Linked DNA regions of Homo sapiens: region 2 is linked to region 1. Evidence: promoter capture Hi-C in 16 types of primary human blood cells and fetal thymus (Javierre and others, 2016). All regions are on one chromosome and are shown on one strand. Each heading gives the region's core, a stretch centred on a gene start or on the middle of the fragment in contact. The rest is flanking DNA. Distances are from core to core; before and after follow the strand shown. Region 1 holds the start of IRF2BPL (interferon regulatory factor 2 binding protein like). Region 2 overlaps FOS (Fos proto-oncogene, AP-1 transcription factor subunit).

Region 1 (4,979 bases), core at 1-2,500:
TGCTGCTGCTGCTGTTGCTGTTGCTGTTGCGCGGCGGCGGCGGCGGCCGCCGCTGCTGCCGCCGCCGCCGCCGCTTCCTTAGCCGACAGGGCCACTGTCTTGACCCCGACGGGCGGCGGCGGCCCGGGGGAGCGGCCGTCCTGGAAGCAGCCGTGCGCCCGCTTCAGCTGGCGCGCTGTCTCGATCACGAATTCGATGCGATCAGCGCCCTCGTAGTTGACGCAACCGCGGCATACGGGTTCCGAGAAGTCCCAGATCATGGCCCAGGGCATGCGGGGCAGGTCGCACAGGTAGCAAGATTGTCTCCGGGACGAGGACACCTGCGCCGCCGACATGATGCCTGCCCTGGGGAAGGTAGGCCCCCGCCCGGGCTGTCTCCGCGGCGCCTTCTCCTCCGGGAGGACTGGCCGGCTGGGGAGGGAGTCCGACTGCGGGGGAGGGAGGAGGGGGGGCGAGAAAGTTCTGCCCCAGGGGCTGGAGGGAACGCGAGTCTCCACCGCCGGCGCAGCGCCTCGCCGTGGGGGCTCCACCGCCCGGGCAGCGGACGGGTTCAGCCCTCTCTTCGCCCCCACCTCCTACTGCGGTTGACTCGTCGCGAGGGGAGCTCAGGCGCCTTCTTCCTGGTGCTGCAGACTTGGGCTGGAAGCTCCCGGCCCGAGGGGAGGGGGCGAGGGTGCCCGGTGGTGGCCGCCGTTGCCTCTTGGCCCCCTCCCCGGAGTGGCTGGTGCGTGGAAGCTCGAAAGGGGCTGTCTCTTCCTCTCCCCGGGGACCCCCCTACGAGCTGCGTCCTCTCCCCGACGGGCCCCCTGGGGCGAGGGCCAGAGGGTTCAGTGCCACCCGGTGCCCGGGTCCAATCTTGCTGAAGCCGCTGCTTCCCCGGAGGACCGGGGGAGGGGGTGGCAGCCGAGAAAGGACCTTCTCCCCTCCGCAGCGTCGGCCGTTCTGCTGGCGGCGACTGGGTTTGCACCCCGGAGGGAGCCGCCGCGGCCACTGCTTCCAGGACGCACGAGAGCAGAGGAGAGGAGTGCACGCACGCAGGCTCCCGCCGCCCCCAGGCCTGGCCGGCGCCCGGGCCGCCGCGGCTGGCGGCGCTCACGTTGGCTGCAGGGCGCTCGCGCGGCGCCTCGGCCCGGGTCGCATCCCTTCCCGCTCGTGCTCACGCTCGCCCGGAATGTGGGGTTGTGATTGTTACTCTACGTTCCGGAGGCGCGTCTCGGCGCTCCTGCTCCGGCTGCGGCTCGCGCTGTCCCCGGCTTGGCCGCGCGGGATGCCGCCCGGGCGGAGCGCTGACGTCACCGCCATGCTCTGCACCAGTTCTTCCCCCTCCCCTTTACACTTCCTCTGTGGAGCCCACTTGTTGCTCAGGCAAGGCGCATGCGCGGCAGGACGCCCAGATTCCTCCCAGCCGGCCCCTCCTCCGCGCCTCCGCCCTCCCCTCCCCCCTCGCCGTGTGTGTACAACAGCTGAGGCCCGGCGAGCTAATGCTGGAAGTCCAGAGCTGGGGGTGGAAATTAAACAGACGATGACCTTTCCTTTCCCTGCCGGGCATTCCCAAGTAAAAACGCATTTAAGAACCACTAGCGTCGTTTCCGATCCCTGCTCCCCACCCCACCCCCAAGCCTCGGCAGTGAATTTAAATGTCCTGTTTCAGGATTTTTCGCCGTGAATTTCGTATAAGGTATTAACCATTTCATCTGCGGTTGAACCTTATCCCCCCCGGCATGGATGTTAAATTCATCGCCACCACTGATGCCGAAGCACCTGCAAAATTAGCTGTTTTCCAATCTTCCAGAAATTGTCTTTTCTATTTGTTTTTGTGCCCTGATCTAGGAACCCGGGCTTCAACGATAGAGCTAAATGAATTCAGAGTGCGCTACCCTTCCCCCCAGCCGCACTTTAAAAATTTTGGCTGAACGTCTGAAGAAGATACGAGCACCCCGAGGCCTTTAAGGAAAACAGGCAACTGGCTGCGCACAGCTGCAGTTCAGGGCAGGGAGGGGGAGGGGCCGGAGAGGCCAAACAGGTGAGTGTTTTTTCTAGAGTTTGATTTTTAAAAGGTGGAGGCAGCATTTAATAATACTGATACATTTTTGTAAAGCACAGCCGCAGTTTTCAAAGTTCTTTCTCAGGCGCTGTGATCTCACTCCATGTTGCCCCAGAAGGCGGAACAAGGCCGTGATTTTTTTTTTTTTTTTTTTTTAAGACGGAGTCTTGCTCTGTCGCCCAGGCTGGAGTGCAAAATGGCGCGATCTCGGCTCACTGCAACCTCTGCCTCGCAGGTTCAAGCGATTCTTCCGCCTCAGCCTCCCAAGTAGCTGTGATTACCGGCACCCGCCATCAGGCCCAGCTAATTTTTTGTATTTTTGTAGAGACATGGTTTCACCATGTTAGCCAGCTGGTCTTGAACTCCTGACCTCAGGTGATCCTCCCGCCTCGGCCTTCCAAAGTGCTGGGATTACAAGCATGAACCACCACGCCCGGCCAAGGCCGTGATTTCTTCTGCCTTACAAGATCACTGCTCATCAGTATTGCTTATGGCACGATGGATATGTTGGTCATAGCTCTAGTTGGGGCATTTCTATTGATTATTCTAATTATTGGGTTTGCTTTTTTTTTTTTTTTTATTTCATGAAAACTGAGATAATCCCAGGGAAGGCTGGAGAAGGGAAAGCAATATAATGGGATTTCGGATTCTGAAGTGTGGCCCACCAGATTGAAATTTCCTCTCCATCACTAACTGGCTCTCCACCCTTAAGCTAGTTACCCACAAAATCTCTCTTTTCCATGGAAAAGAGAATGGAATGATAGCTCCCAGGTTGTTAGGGTTGTTTGAGATTTCAACTTCGGTTTTTTGTTTTTTTGAGATAGGATCTTGTTCTGTTGCCCAGGCTGGAGTGCAGTGGCACACTCGCGGCTGGCAGCAGCCTGACCTCCCAGGCTCAAGTAATCCTCCCACCTCAGCCTCCCTAGTAGCTGGGACTACAGGCATGTGCCATTACACCTGGCCAATTTTTTTGTATTTTTGGAAAGGGATGGGGTTTTGCCGTGTTGCCCAGGCTGGTCTCAAACTCCTGGGCCCAAGTGATGCACCCACCTTGGCCTCCCAAAGTGTTGGGATTACAGGCATGAGCCACCTCACCCGGCCTCAATTTGTTTCTTGTCATAAGAAGAGATAACGCTTACTTAGACTTGCCGTGGGACCTTAGTAAACTAGGTGGCTTTACTTGCATCACCCTTAATATTATCTACATTATTAAGGGGATATTATCTATAGTATTTTGTTGTTGTTTTGAGACAGAGTCCACTCTGTCACCCAGGCTGGAGTACAGTGACGCAATCTCAGCTCACTGCAACCTCCACCTCCCAGGTTCAAGCAATTCTCCTGCCTCAGTCTCCCAAGTACCTGGGGATACAGGCGCCCGCCACCACACCCAGCTCATTTTTGTATTTTTAGTAGAGACGGACTTTCACCATGTTGGCCAGGCTGGTCTCGAACTCCTGACCTCAGGTGATCCTCCCGCCTCAGCCTCCCAAAGTGCTGGGATTACAGGCATGACCCACCGTGACCGGCCTATTACAGTATTAAACCCTTAATATTATCTACAGGGTAGATTCTTTTACCTCCATTTTACAAACCAGGAAAGTAAAGAGGCTATATAACTTGCCTACAGCCATTAGTGATGGGGCTGGGATTTGAATCCAGTAAATCTGATTTGAGGTGTCTTTGACAAGCTCAGGCTTGCAGAGGTGGTTTGGGGTGCTCAAAATTCCCATCAGCCCCAGTTGATTTGGTGTTACATACAATCTTACGTAAGTACTATGCCAATACACCTTCATAACCAACCCCCAGCCTCCCCTTCCAAGCGCATTTGTACCACTGAGTTCTATATACAGAAGTTGTAGATCTGTCACTACCAGACTGTAACTTAAATACACCATACAGAATGGAGAGCAGTGTTGGACTCACAGTTAGTGTTAGTTATTATTAGTATTGATACTAGTGTTGGTACTATTGCTGGTTGACATGTGACAGTACTTAGTAAACTGCATAAATTGTGAGGATCACTATTATCACTCTTATTACTAGTAATTGCAATAAAGTTCAGTGGAAGCAACAAGAGATACTTACTTTTATTTTGACACTTGACTTCCAGAGCCTGTTCCCCTATCCAACCCTCCCCAGAGCCCCAATCTCCCACTCATTCTGGGGCCCCTGAGTGCAAAGGAAAGGCGAGTTTTTAAGGACAGAAGAGGAGGAGGAGCCCTAGGGAGCCCCTCTTTCATCTCAAAGCAGCCAGATTTCTGTTTTTGCAAAACAGTGAGCTCACTGTGCACTCTAGAGCAATAATAAACTTTCTCTGGCCTGCTGGCACTTTGCAGTGATTCCTCTGCAAAGAGTTGCTTGGGGAGCATTGCCTCACTCTCCCAGACTTCAGCCCTCCCCACACTACCGCTACCCTGGAGTGAGTCAAAACATAGGGGTGGGAAATGGTTTGACATCCCCGCCAGCCTGGGGCTCCTTAGCTTTGGCTCGGTTGGGTGACCCATTTCTTTACATTAATATTTATTCAGCCCTTCCCTTTATTAAACCAAAAATATTAGGGAAATAGCAACTTAGCCACAACCCTCCAGCCAGGCTGCTAGAGAAAGCAAGTTGGATTCTATGTCATGGTGTTATGTTTGGTATGCACACACATATGTCTCCATCTCCCTGTCTGTCTCTGTCTTCACTGTTACTAAAGGAGATATATATACACACATACATGCTGGGGTGCCTTCAGACACACTGAGTTAGAAATCAACGTGTATTTAAACAGACTTCCATTACAGACTCATAATCCTTTCATTTATAAAACACAGCTGTCTCCAAACCGCCCCCCCCCCCCCAACCAAAAAAAAGAATCAACATCATTTGTGGTATCTCTTGTTGCCTGAGATGGCCGTTTGGGGATGTGTGAGAGACGGTGAGAGGCTAGAAC
Region 2 (7,334 bases), core at 1,327-3,826, 1.7 Mb before region 1:
AGCAGCAATGAGCCTTCCTCTGACTCGCTCAGCTCACCCACGCTGCTGGCCCTGTGAGGGGGCAGGGAAGGGGAGGCAGCCGGCACCCACAAGTGCCACTGCCCGAGCTGGTGCATTACAGAGAGGAGAAACACATCTTCCCTAGAGGGTTCCTGTAGACCTAGGGAGGACCTTATCTGTGCGTGAAACACACCAGGCTGTGGGCCTCAAGGACTTGAAAGCATCCATGTGTGGACTCAAGTCCTTACCTCTTCCGGAGATGTAGCAAAACGCATGGAGTGTGTATTGTTCCCAGTGACACTTCAGAGAGCTGGTAGTTAGTAGCATGTTGAGCCAGGCCTGGGTCTGTGTCTCTTTTCTCTTTCTCCTTAGTCTTCTCATAGCATTAACTAATCTATTGGGTTCATTATTGGAATTAACCTGGTGCTGGATATTTTCAAATTGTATCTAGTGCAGCTGATTTTAACAATAACTACTGTGTTCCTGGCAATAGTGTGTTCTGATTAGAAATGACCAATATTATACTAAGAAAAGATACGACTTTATTTTCTGGTAGATAGAAATAAATAGCTATATCCATGTACTGTAGTTTTTCTTCAACATCAATGTTCATTGTAATGTTACTGATCATGCATTGTTGAGGTGGTCTGAATGTTCTGACATTAACAGTTTTCCATGAAAACGTTTTATTGTGTTTTTAATTTATTTATTAAGATGGATTCTCAGATATTTATATTTTTATTTTATTTTTTTCTACCTTGAGGTCTTTTGACATGTGGAAAGTGAATTTGAATGAAAAATTTAAGCATTGTTTGCTTATTGTTCCAAGACATTGTCAATAAAAGCATTTAAGTTGAATGCGACCAACCTTGTGCTCTTTTCATTCTGGAAGTCTTGTAAGTTTCTGAAAGGTATTATTGGAGACCAGTTTGTCAAGAAGGGTAGCTGCTGGAGGGGGACACACCCTCTGTCTGATCCCTTATCAAAGAGGACAAGGAAACTATAGAGCTGATTTTAGAATATTTTACAAATACATGCCTTCCATTGGAATGCTAAGATTTTCTACTGCTTCTGGGGACGGGAAACCGCTGTGTAACAGCTTTTGTGGGAATACATTTTTTCTGTTTCAGTACTCGCAGGGGGAAATATTTAAATTTTGTTGTGCTAATATTAAATTCAGATGTTTTGATCTTAAAGGAACCCTTTAAGCAAACAGAACCTAGCTTTGTACAGACTATTTTAACTTTTTATTCTCACAAAATCACGTGGAGGGTTATTCTACTTCAAAGATGAGCAAATTGAAGAATGGTTAGAATAAACAACTTTCTTGATATTCCGTTATCGGCATTAGAATCTTCCTGCTCGTTATCGTATCCAGCAGGCTGAACTGCCTCTTGATACTTGGTTAAAAAAAATTTTCAGGCCGGGCGCGGTGGCCCATGCCTGTAATCCTAGCACTTTGGGAGGCCGAGGCAGGCGGATCACCTGAGGTCGGGAGTTCGAGACCAGCCTGACCAACATGGAGAAACCCCGTCTTTACTAAAAATACAAAATTAGCCTGGTGTGGTGGTGCATGCCTGTAATCCTAGCTACTTGAGAGGCTGAGACAGGAAAATCACTTGAACTCGGGAGGCGGATGTTGCAGCGAACTGAGATTGCGCCATTGCACTCCAGCCTGGGCAACAAGATTGAAACTCTGTTTAAAAAAAAAAGTTTTCACTAATGTGTACATTTTTTTGTACTCTTTTATTCTCGAAAGGGAAGGAGGGCTATTGCCCTATCCCTTATTAATAAATGCATTGTGGTTTCTGGTTTCTCTAATACCATATGCCCTTCATTCAGTTTATAGTGGGCGGAAGTGGGGGAGAAAAAGTTGCTCAGAAATCAAAAGATATCTCAAACAGCACAAATAATGGCTGATCGTTCTGCAAACAAAAAGTTACATAATAGCTCAAGAAGGAGAAGTCAACATGACTCTGAACAAGCTTTAACTTAGAAACTTTATCATCTTAAGGAAGAACGTGACCTTTGTCCGGGACGTCTCTGGTAATGGGGCACTTACACACACATGCACACGTACAAACCACAGGGAAAGGAGACCGCCCTTCTGCCTCTGCTCGCGAGTATCATGCAGGCACCATGCACTATGTTTTCACACACACTGGGTGGAAGAAGAGCTTCAGCGCCAGTCTTCTAATGCTTTGGTGATAATGAAAATCACTGGGTGCTTATGGGGTGTCATATTCAACCGAGTTAAAAGTTTTAATTCAAAATGACAGTTTTACTGAGGTTGATGTTCTCGTCTATGATATCTCTGCCCCTCCCATAAAAATGGACATTTAAAAGCAACTTACCGCTCTTTAGATCACTCCTATATCACACACCACTTGGGGTGCTGTTTCTGCTAGACTTGTGATGACAGTGGCCTTAGGATCCCTGTTTGCTGTTCAAAGGGCAAATATTTTATAGCCTTTAAATATACCTAAACTAAATACAGAATTAATATAACTAACAAACACCTGGTCTGAAATAACAAGGTGATCTACCCTGTAAGGAACCCAGCTGGTGGGCCAGGAGCGGTGGCTCACACCTGTAATTCCAGCACTTTGGGAGGCTGAGACAGGAGGATCACTGGAGTCCAGGAGTTTGAGACCAGCCTGGGCAACATGGCAAAACCCAGTGTGCTTCTGTTGTCCCAGCTACACTACTCAGGAGGCTGAGGCAGGAGTATGACTTGAGCCTGGGAGGGGGAGGTTGCAGAGAACTGATATTGCACCACCACTGCACTCCAGCCTGGGTGACACAGCAAAACCCTATCTCAAAAAAAAAAAAAAAAAAAAAAAGGAACCCAGCTGGTTCCTGTAGGTGTGCAATAATAACAACCAGAGGAAGAAAAGGAAGACGATTTCCCAGATGAAGAAGGGCAGCTGGACCTTCGGACATTGACCTGCTCCTGGGGACCTCAATCATGGTCCCTGTCAGCCCCATGCTTACTCTAGAGGGTGAGCATTGCTTTCCCTTTGACAGCCCTGGCCAAGGCCCAGACACAGACCCTTGCTCTAGCTTATTGCACAGCCCAGTGGAGACCAGGCTGCTACATCAAGATGGCGTTAAAGGTCCAGAAAGAGGAAATCAGAGACCATCGGATCCCCAGGGTTGACATCCCACCAAGCTTCCTGCTGACCACTTTCATGGGCTTGAGAGAAGAAATTCCTTCCTCCTTTCTCCAGCTAAATGGCTCCTTCCAAATCCCTTTTACTCACTCAGGACTGGACAACTCTCAGGGATTATTAACTCTGGGAAATTTTTTGTTTTTGTTTTTTGTTTATTTTTTTTGTTTTTTAGGCAGGGTCTCGCTCTGCTGCCATCTCGGCTCACTTCAACCTCCGCCTCCCGGCTTCAAGTGATTCTCCTGCCTCAGCCTCCTGAGTAGCTGGAATTACAGGCAACTGCCACCACTCCTGGCTAATTTTTGTATTTTTAGTAGAGACAGGGTTTCACCATGTTGGCCAGGCTGGCCTCGAACTCCTGACCTCAAGTGATCCCCCCAACCTTGGTCCCCAAAGTGCTGGGATTACAGATGTGAGCCACCATACCTGGCCTTCAACTTTCTTTTGAAAAAGACTTTGTCGGATTCCTACCCACAAGCTATGGCCTCATGCTAATCTCAATAAAACAACTACCTGCCAGGCGCGGTGGCTCACACCTGTAATCCCAACACTTTGGGAGGCCAAGGTGGGTGGATCGCCTGAGGTCAGGAGTTCGAAACCAGCCTGGCCAACATAGTGAAACCCCGTCTTTACTAAAAATACAAAAAAATTAGCTGGGTGTGGTGGCGGGCACCTGTAATCCCAGCTACTCGGGAGGCTGAGGTAGGAGAATGGCATGAACCTGGGAGGCGGAGCTTGCAGTGAGCTGAGATCATGCCATTGCACTCCAGCCTGGGTGACAAGCGTGAAACTCTGTCTCAAAAAAACAAAAAACAAACAAAAAAGAAAACAACTACCAGAGGGCACCACTATTCAACATTGCTAAAGACATATACATATAATTGAAGGGGATAGAGGCAGAAGTCATTTCCTCATGGGGATTATGTCCAGTTTAGCTCACCAGGATCCCCAGAACTGGCTCAGTGCCTGGCACATGGTACAAGGTTAATTAATATTTTGCCCAGTGGATGAATAAATTCTGTGCTATTTCCATACACAGAAATATATTCCACACATATTCTTTAACTTCTCCTCTCCTGGTCCCTGTTAGTATATTAAGCAATGGGAATTTTACATCTTTTATGTCTGGCTGCAAAAATATACCCCATTCCCATCCTTGCCTCCTGGAATTCCTTCACTGTCTTCCTGGATGACCTCTGCCAATTCAACTTCAAAGCTGCCATTGGGCTTCTGGCTCCAAATTAATTTTCAATGGGAAGAGGGAAGAGGAAAAATATTTATCTCTGTAGAATAGTGGATTGTAGATTCTGCATCATCTTTGCACATCACTGCATCTTGTGTAATTATCAAAATTAAAGGGTAGGATTTAACAATTTGTTCTAATAACAGTAATTTTGTATCAACAGCAATTCCCATGTGTGAATGAAAGTAAATCAATTATGCTATCTTTAATTAACGGACAAAAAAAAATTGAGGCACAGTAAAAGTTCTCAGTTGATTATCTTGAGGTAATCGTCTAAAGTTTCAATGTTTTTACAGTTGAAAAAAAGCTAAAACAAAATTGATCTCTAAATGGTGTATGAGACTCATTCCAAACAGAGTAACCAAACTCCTCAAAAAAAAAAAAAAAAAAAAAAAAAGAGATATGAGCCTCACTTGAATGCTGAATAGCAGAATGCTTTAAATTGTGCTGTTTTCCTATTAATATTAAAGAGTTGACTTTTAGGAAGTCTCACTCAGGGTCCCCTGTCTCTCTACTGAAGAGAGAGTTATTCTCCTTTCTCTTTCTTTTGCTTATTAAACCTCTACTCCTAAACACCACCCCTCCACCAAAAAAAAAAAAAAAAGTTGACTTTTAATTCCTCTCCCACTCTATCTCTTTTCCTTCTTCCCTACAGGCACTCTGCTCACGAGCCTTCCTTCCACTCCTGGCACATAGAACACGTACTCCTGCAGCAGGGCCTCTGCACTTGCAGTCCCTCTGCCGGGGCCTCTTGCCCCAGGCTGGCGGCATCCTGTCATTTGGGACTCTGCTCAAAGGACATGTCCTCCAAGGGGCTTTCCCTGGTCATTCTATCTAGGGTGACTTCGGGACATACTTGCTCCCTAGGACTCTCTATTTAGTTATCCTGCTTTGTTTTTTCACAGCCTGTATCCCTACTTGCAATATCTAATTTATGTGTTATTTTCCTTTTAAAAAATTGTCTGTCTCATCGGGTGCAGTAGCTCACGCCTGTAATCCCAGCACTTTGGGAGACCTAGGTGGGCGGATTACCTGAGGTCAAGAGTTCGAGACCAGCCTGGCCAACATGGCAAAACCCTGTCTCTACTAAAAATGCAAAAATTAGCTGGGGGTGGGTGGTGTGCACCTGTAATCCCAGCTACTCAGGAGGCTTAGGCAGGAGAATCGCTTGAACCCAGGAGGTGTAGGTTGCAGTGAGCCAAGATCGTGCCAATGCACTCTAACCTGGGTGACAGAGCAAGACCCTGTCTCAAAAAAAAAAGAAAATTGTCTGTCTCTTATCCCTGAACTGTAAGTTCCATGTGAGCGGGAACCTTTTCTGTCTTGATCACATTTGTATCTCTAGTGTCTATTAGGCCCTCAAGTGCATGTTGAATAAAGAAGATGAATGAGTGAATGAATGCAGATGAAAATTACAAAAATATTGACAGGGACATAGCTAGAACTTAAAGTGAAGATAAACTATATACTTCACAGATTTTTTTCAGGGTAGAAGAGTATGCCCATTTGTTTAAAAAAATTGCCTTCGAGGATTCTACAATATTAAGATGAGGAGCTAGCTAGCTTGGGAAAGAATTTTAAGGGGTACAAAAAATACAAGTAAGCTGTAGGTCAGTGACACTTCTAGGCTAATTATAGGTTGAGAAATTGTTTCGCTATTAAATGCAGAATGAATGCATATATAAATTTAGATATAATCATTTTCAAAGAAACAAACAAAATTATGTTTTTCACTCTTACTGCTATAAAACTTTCAGACTATCACAAAAATCCCATTTGAGTTCAATGGTTCCTAGCAATCAGTGTGCTAAATGGTAAAACCTATAATTTAGTCTGCATTAAAATAGAAGAATAAGGGTTAGCTACTATCATTATTATCACATCAACATCATCATCATAATTATCATTTGCCAAGAATATGCCCAGACCTGAGGAGAAGCAGGTAGAAATAGGGTACATTGAATCCTGAGGAATCAGTGCAAAGTCTCTGAAGGGGGATGGTTGGATAGATTTCCATTTCCTTTGCATGCGGGAGAAAGCAACAGAAACGTAAACCAGTTCCGTTGCAACACAATTTATTTTCGTGGTTCCACACATCTATTTTTGGACTAAACTAAGTTGCCTTTCCTTTGCCCAAGCATTCTTCAGTTGCTTAAGAGGACACAGAGCAGTAAGGGCTCTGGAGCCTGCCTGGCCTTATGGCCATCAGCTCTCCATTTTTTTTTTTCTGAGACGGAGTCTCACTCTGTCACCCAGGCTGGCTCACTGCAACCTCTGCCTCCTGAGTTCAAGCGATTGTCCTGCCTCACTCCCGTCTCAGCCACCAGAGTAGCTGGGATTCCAGGCAACTGCTATCATGCCTGGCTAATTTTTGTATTGTTGTAGAGATGGGGTTTCACCATGTTGCCCAGGTTGGTCTCCAACTGCTGACCTCAGGTGATCCGCCGGTCTCAGCCTCCCAAAGTGCTGGGATTACAGGCATGAGCCACCGAGCCCAGCCAGCTCTTCTTAATAAGCCCTTTTCCCTTTCAGCTCAAGGTGATTGGGTTTGGTACAGTCAGGTGACTGGGAGGGCTGGGAACCCGCACGGGTTTAATTGTTGGTTATGTTAGAAGCAGACCCATACAAAGGGGCCCCTATTAAAGGGTCTAGACTGAGCAAAACGAAATACCTTCGTGCTAAATGTAAGTGACCCAGTCTCCAGTTGCCGCCATGCTTACTTTGGGGAACAATTTTTGGTCAAATCTATGGAAGCAATGATTTGTTTTTAGGCTTTTTGTCAGTGATGTGACTATCATCACAGCTAAATTTATCAAAACAATATAATATATTGATCTAAATTTGGGGAATTGGATCCAATGTATGTATGTATGTATGTATTTATGTATTGAGACAGTATCTCATTCTGTCATCCAGGCTGG

What was found. Contacts are between HindIII fragments. The CHiCAGO score rates a contact against its expected background, and 5 or more counts as called.
Region 2: a contact is called between a fragment that was not itself captured here and the fragment with the promoter of IRF2BPL in region 1, in 1 of 17 cell types (M0 macrophages). The highest score is 6.7, in M0 macrophages.

Annotation. Positions count from the first base shown.
Region 1 is chr14:77,027,458-77,032,436 of GRCh38, forward strand. IRF2BPL (interferon regulatory factor 2 binding protein like) reads right to left here and starts at 1,251. Exons shown (of 1, transcript NM_024496.4): 1 at 1-1,251. The coding sequence starts at 335. It overlaps LOC107984638 (a long non-coding RNA gene), which reads left to right and starts at 11. Exons shown (of 4, transcript NR_190002.1): 1 at 11-354; 2 at 1,831-2,023; 3 at 2,204-2,279; 4 at 2,370-4,115. It overlaps LOC105370579 (a long non-coding RNA gene), which reads right to left. Exons shown (of 2, transcript NR_169510.1): 2 at 4,102-4,979. RefSeq lists silencers at 381-880, 1,001-1,210, 1,411-1,540 and an enhancer at 2,304-2,824. The HindIII fragment of the contact is 11,624 bases long and covers 1-4,979 here.
Region 2 is chr14:75,281,368-75,288,701 of GRCh38, forward strand. FOS (Fos proto-oncogene, AP-1 transcription factor subunit) reads left to right here. Exons shown (of 4, transcript NM_005252.4): 4 at 1-863. The coding sequence ends at 57. Among named protein-coding and RNA genes, the nearest start is that of FOS, 6.2 kb to the left of the region's middle. RefSeq lists an enhancer at 1-450. The HindIII fragment of the contact is 1,187 bases long and covers 1,984-3,170 here.